Linked DNA regions of Homo sapiens: region 1 is linked to region 2. The links are contacts of gene promoters, found by promoter capture Hi-C in blood cells and fetal thymus (Javierre and others, 2016). All regions are on one chromosome and are shown on one strand. Each heading gives the region's core, a stretch centred on a gene start or on the middle of the fragment in contact. The rest is flanking DNA. Distances are from core to core; before and after follow the strand shown.

Region 1 (2,782 bases), core at 163-2,662, 52 kb before region 2:
AACTAACCTTTTTAAGGGTGGAGAAAAGTTACGTGGGGAGAAAGGATAAGGAAAGGATTAGGCAAGAGAAAAAAAAATGATGATGGAGATTATTATCAGTATCATCAGGCTGAGACTTGCAGCCTTGTGCCCTTTTAGGTTTGAGCCCTTGTACAGGGAAAAACTGTGCCAGATTCTTTATAGATCCTTTTTGTACCATCAAGTAGACATTATCCTTAAACTCTGCAGCCTTCCCTGGCATCATCACAACAACCACACCGCCACCAGGAAAGCCTGTCCTATTCTAGTCAAGCACCTAGGGATAGGCATGCAAATTGATAACAAAAACAAAAGATTACAAAACTGGGAGGAACTGGGCATGGTGGCACACTCCTGTAATCCCTGCTTCTCAGGAGGCTGAGGTGGGAGGGTCACTTGAGCCCAGGAGCTGGAGACCAGCCTGAGCAACATAGTGAGACCCTGGCTCAAAAAAAGAAAAGAAAGAAACTAGGAGGCGGGGAAAAAGCGGAGACTAAATGATACCTCTCGTCTTCCCCAACCAGGATTAAAACAGTTCTCTCTCACTCATTGTGGAAAGTCTAAGGGTTGATCTTTTTCACCGTCAAGTCCTGCCCTTGATCTGTTGGGTCTTTTTATCAGTCTCACAGGCTTTACGAGAGAACACCTATCCATTCCTGGCCATGATTATGCTGAAGGATCGAAGGATGACTGTGGTGGGACGGCTAGAAGGCCTCATTCAACCTGATGACCTCATTAACCAACTGACATTTATCATGGATGCTAACCAGACTTACCTGGTGTCAGAACGCCTAGAAAGGTACAAGGGAGTTCCCTTCTGGAACAGAGAGAGACCAGTTGTAAATTTGGAGGGCTGACCTCTGGGGCTCTACCAATCCTGACTTCTTCTGTGCATCAGGCCGCTATTAGCTTTTAGCTTTGCCCATTTATTGTCAAAATATTTACATACTTTGACCTAAATTACTCTATATCAGGTAATCTGTTCTTAGAGATGTTCAAAATAAAGACAAGGGCTGGGTGCAGTGGCTAACACCTGAAATCCTAGCACGTTAGGAGGCTGAGGCAGGAGGATTACTTGAATCCAGACTGGGCAGCAAAGCGAGACCCCATCTCTACAAAAAATAAGAAAAAATTAGCTAGGCATGGTGGTACATGCCTGTAGTCCCAGGTCCTTGGGAGCCCGAGGCAGGAGGATTGCTTGAGGCCAGGAGTTCGAGGCAGCAGTGAGCTCTGATTGTGCCTCTGCACTCCAGCCTGGATGACAGAGCAGGACTCTGTCTTTAAAAAATAATAAATGAATGAATAAACAAAGACAGGCCTCTGTGCTCAAGAATGTATATTGTGGCATTTAGAATAGCTGAATATAATATAAAGAACTTCGATGTAAAAAAAAAAGTGGAATGGTTATAATTCCTCTCCATTACATAAGTTATGTACATTAATTATAGGAAATCCTAAAACCACAAAAAAGCACAAGGAAGAAATTTAAGATCACTGATAAACCTACCACCACTTGAACATTGTTATAAATTTTTTTAATTTTATACACAACACACACCCCTATATACGTACACATTTATTTGTAAAATTGGGATAATACTTTTTTACAACCCTTCTTTATGTAAGAATATATCACGGCCTTTTCCCTCATCATTAAATATTCTGCCACATTTTAAAAATTACTGCATAACATTCCATTATCTAAATACATCATAATTTAACCAGGCCACTCTCGTTGGATTTTTAGATTATTTTCGGTTTGTTACTATTATAATTAGCATATAGGGAGATAATTTTTTGCAATTTGTGATGGTTTCCTTAGATTAAAATTTAAATTCCTGGAAGTGCAGTTTCTGGGTGAGACAATCAATATAAGTATATTTTAAGGCTCTTGATTTGTAATGCCAACTTGCCCTCAAGAAAGTTAAACAAACTTAAATTTTATGGAAAGTTTTTAATAACATGGGGACATGCTTGTTACATATTAGAAAAATGCAGAATCAGGCCGAGCATGTTGGCTCATACCTGTAATCCGAGCATTTCGGGAGGCTGAGGTAAGAAGATTGCTTGAACTCAGGAGTTTGAGGTCAGCCCGGGCAACATGGTGAAACCCCATCTCTACAAAAAATACAAAAATTAGCTAGGCGTGGTGGCACACGCCTGTAAGCTGAGGTGGCAGGATTGCTTTAGCCTAGGAGGTTGAGGCTGCAGTGAGTCATGATCGCACCACTGCACTCTAGCCTGGGTGACAGGCTAGCCCTGTCTCCAAAAAAAAAGAAAAATGCAAGATCAAAATCCTGTAAATAATAGCGTTATTTTAACTGTGTAAAAAAATGTATAGAACAGGAAACTTTCCGAGGTAACTGAAATGTTCTGTCTTGATTGGAGTGGTGATTACATGGTTACATTTATCAAAATTCATTGAATTGTACATTTAAGATCTGTGCATTTCACTGCATGTAAATTTTATCTTAATTTTTAAAGATAAAATCTGTTCAACTATTTTGATTGGCTAAATATTTTGGCTAAGAGAAAACAGAAATTTGTTGGAGAGAAAATAGGAGATATGCCAAATGTTATAATGTTTTATCTTTGATTAGTGATTCTCTGAATGACTCTGAAAACTCTACATTTTCAGATCTGCTACAATGTGTGTATGGATATATATGTGTGTGTTTTGGTTTTATGAGATCAGTACAAAAATGCAGTCACCCAAAATGGTATTTACTTGTAAAATATGATATTGATGATCCCTTCATAATAA
Region 2 (2,752 bases), core at 248-2,747:
TGTTTTACATTTGGAGAGTTGGGAAGCAAACTATTAAAATGCCTGACTATAGCAACTGCCTGATATACAGTCAACACAACCCTTAACAACGGGGACACCTTCTGGGAAATGTGTCATCAGGCAATTTCGTCATTGTGTGAACATCACACAGTGACTTACACAAACCTAGGCGGTACCACCTACTACACACCCAGTCTCTATACCACCGCCTGTGCTCCTGGGCTGCTAACCTATGCAGCCTGGGACTGTACCGCACGCTGCAGGCAACTGTAACACAGGGGTAAGTATTTGTGCATGTAAACACAGAAAGGGTGCCATGAAAGATGATATTATACTCTTATGGGACCGCTATTATATGTGTGGTTCGTTGTTGACCAAAACACAGATATATGGTGCATGACTATATATCTATTGTGAATTAGACATGTCCTCTGCCCACAAGAAGAGGGCCACCCAATGGTGACGACTCAGTGGTGTGCCTTAAGAAAGTTGTGCCCAGGGTCCCCTTTCTGTGTCAACTGTGATGGCTGGGCCAAAGTGAGGATAAGAAGGACTTGTGGCTGAGCCCCTTCGGGAGGCCACCACATCGGGCAGCGCTTAAAGCCAGCCTGGGGGCCGAGCTCCGTGGCTCATCCCTGTAATCCCAGCATTTTGGAAGGCCGAGGCAGGCGGATCGCCTGAGGTTAGGAGTTCGAGACCAGCCTGGCCAACATGGTGAAACCCTGTTTCTACTAAAAATACAAAAAAAATTAGCCGGGTGTGGAGGCCCACGCCTGTAATCCCAGTTACTCGAGAGGCTGAGGTAGGAGAATTGCTTGAACCCAGGAAGCAGAGATTGCAGTGAGCCAAGATTGTGCCACTTCACTCCAGCCTGGGTGACAGAGCAAGACTCTGACTCAAAAATAAATAAATAATTAAAAAAAAAAGGCAACTTGGGAGTGGATGAAGCCCCTGGGGACGGGCAGATGCCTTTTGAGGGTCTCAATGCGGGGTGAGATCAGTGTCAACAGGCTCGAAAGTGGGTTGTCCAGGCTCAGCTAGCCCCCAGTCCTCCACGAGAACCTCACAGGGGCTGGTCTGGCCACACAGTGTTTGATTGTTACACTGTTTTACCACTTCCCTCTCCTGACTCAATCCCCCACTTGTCCACAGATCCCCTGTCACTGAAGACTCGTAGCAGGGAGGGGACGGGGGCTCTGGCATCACCTTCTGACTGTCACCGTCCCCGCCTCCAGCCTGCCCCAGTGTTGGGCCTTGTTCCCAGGTCCTCTGGGCTCAGGGTCGGCCAGGCCCCTTCTCCTGTGGTGTGGGCCTCCAGCCCCAGGAGCGCCAGGAGCTCTGGCGCCTTGGTCCCTTCCTCCTGTCCGGCGCCCCCAGCTGTACTCTGCCTCATTAGGAGTCGACCCCTCCTGGGAGGTGTGGTCTCTGGCAGGGTTAATGATTGCTCAGTGGAGGTGGAGATGGTGCCAAAGTCTGCTGGCCACATAGCTGCAGGCCGCAGAGGGTGCCCACCTGTGTGCCAGCGCCTGTCCGGCGCCTGCCTGCCGCCTCCGTGGCGAAGGGGACACAGGTAGGGACTATCCAGCTCATCGGGGGTCTCTGGGCCAGAGAAATGTGGGGGTTGGGGGGATCCCTAGAGCCAAGGCAAGCTTGGGGGTCTTTAAAAGTCTCCCCTGAAGCTGGGCAGGGGAAGTCACACGCTAGATGGGGCAGAGCCGGGTCAGGTCCCAGCCTGCTGTGAGGCCTGTTTCTTTGGTAAACATGGGATAATAATACCTCCTTCCCTGGGGGCTGATGGCCCCCTTCCCATCCAAGTCCTCAAGGGATGATTCTTCAGAGGATGGAAGGGAGGCAGGCACCCCAGGGAAACGAGGTAACTGGCCTGACCCCTTCATAGGATGCTCAGGGGTTGAGGACGGGGAAGCTGACCTGGGCTCTTACCCCAGCTGCTCGGTTCACATCCCAGCTCCACCCTGACCTTGGTGGGCTACTTAACTCTTCTGGGCCTCCGTTTCCTCATTTATCAAATGGGGATGAGAAGAGTTCCAGAAAGGGCCTGAAAAGCCCTGAGGCAAAGGTGAGCATGTGGCCTATGACCGAGCCCAGTGCCACCTCAGCCAGTGCTAGGAAGTGTCAGGCAGGGACTGACCCAGGCTGGCCCCAGCTCTGCCCAGTCCGGGCCTTGCACATCTCTCTGCCCTGGTAGAGGAGGTGGTGACCCAGCTGAGAGTCGGGGCCATGCTGCGTCACTCAGGCAGGCCTGTGCTGGGTTGGGCACCAGGCACAAGGCAGGGTCCCAGTGAGCACCGAGGTCCGGCAGATGGAAACAAGTCATGGCCCGTGTGTAGACCCCTTGATTTTTATCCTCACTCTGCTTCTCAGCAGGGGAAACTGAGGCCTGGAGAGGGGAGAGGGCTTGCCTGGGGTTGCACAACAAATATGTGAAATGCTGCCATCTGAACCCAGGGCTGTTTGAGTCTGTATGTGTCTGCTGGGCCAGGTGGCCTGGGCCATAGGCACTGGGAGGGCCCGTGGCGGGGAGCTGCGTGCTCAGGTCCCACATCCTTGCTCCGGGCACCCAGGCTCGGCTGGAGTCCGCTCTGTGGGTGCAGGCACGGCCTCCTGGATCAACGGAGCCCAGACCAAGGCTTGCCCAGGGACCCCTGGATTTGGAGGCAGCCTGGGTCTAACCTGCTGCCCCTGGCTCACCCATCTCTGGGCATCTATGAGCCTCGGTTTCCTTGGAATAATA

What was found. The method cuts DNA at HindIII sites, captures the fragments that hold promoters and counts their contacts. A CHiCAGO score of 5 or more calls a contact.
Region 1: a contact is called between a fragment that was not itself captured here and the fragment with the promoter of CDHR2 in region 2, in 4 of 17 cell types (non-activated CD4 T cells, naive CD4 T cells, total CD4 T cells and 1 more). The highest score is 6.0, in non-activated CD4 T cells.

The regions. Positions count from the first base shown.
Region 1 is chr5:176,495,847-176,498,628 of GRCh38, forward strand. FAF2 (Fas associated factor family member 2) reads left to right here. Exons shown (of 11, transcript NM_014613.3): 8 at 640-817. Among named protein-coding and RNA genes, the nearest start is that of RNF44, 40 kb to the right of the region's middle. The HindIII fragment of the contact is 2,862 bases long and covers 1-2,782 here.
Region 2 is chr5:176,547,845-176,550,596 of GRCh38, forward strand. It overlaps CDHR2 (cadherin related family member 2), which reads left to right and starts at 1,498. Exons shown (of 32, transcript NM_017675.6): 1 at 1,498-1,570. RefSeq lists an enhancer at 1,770-2,703. The HindIII fragment of the contact is 9,099 bases long and covers 1-1,647 here.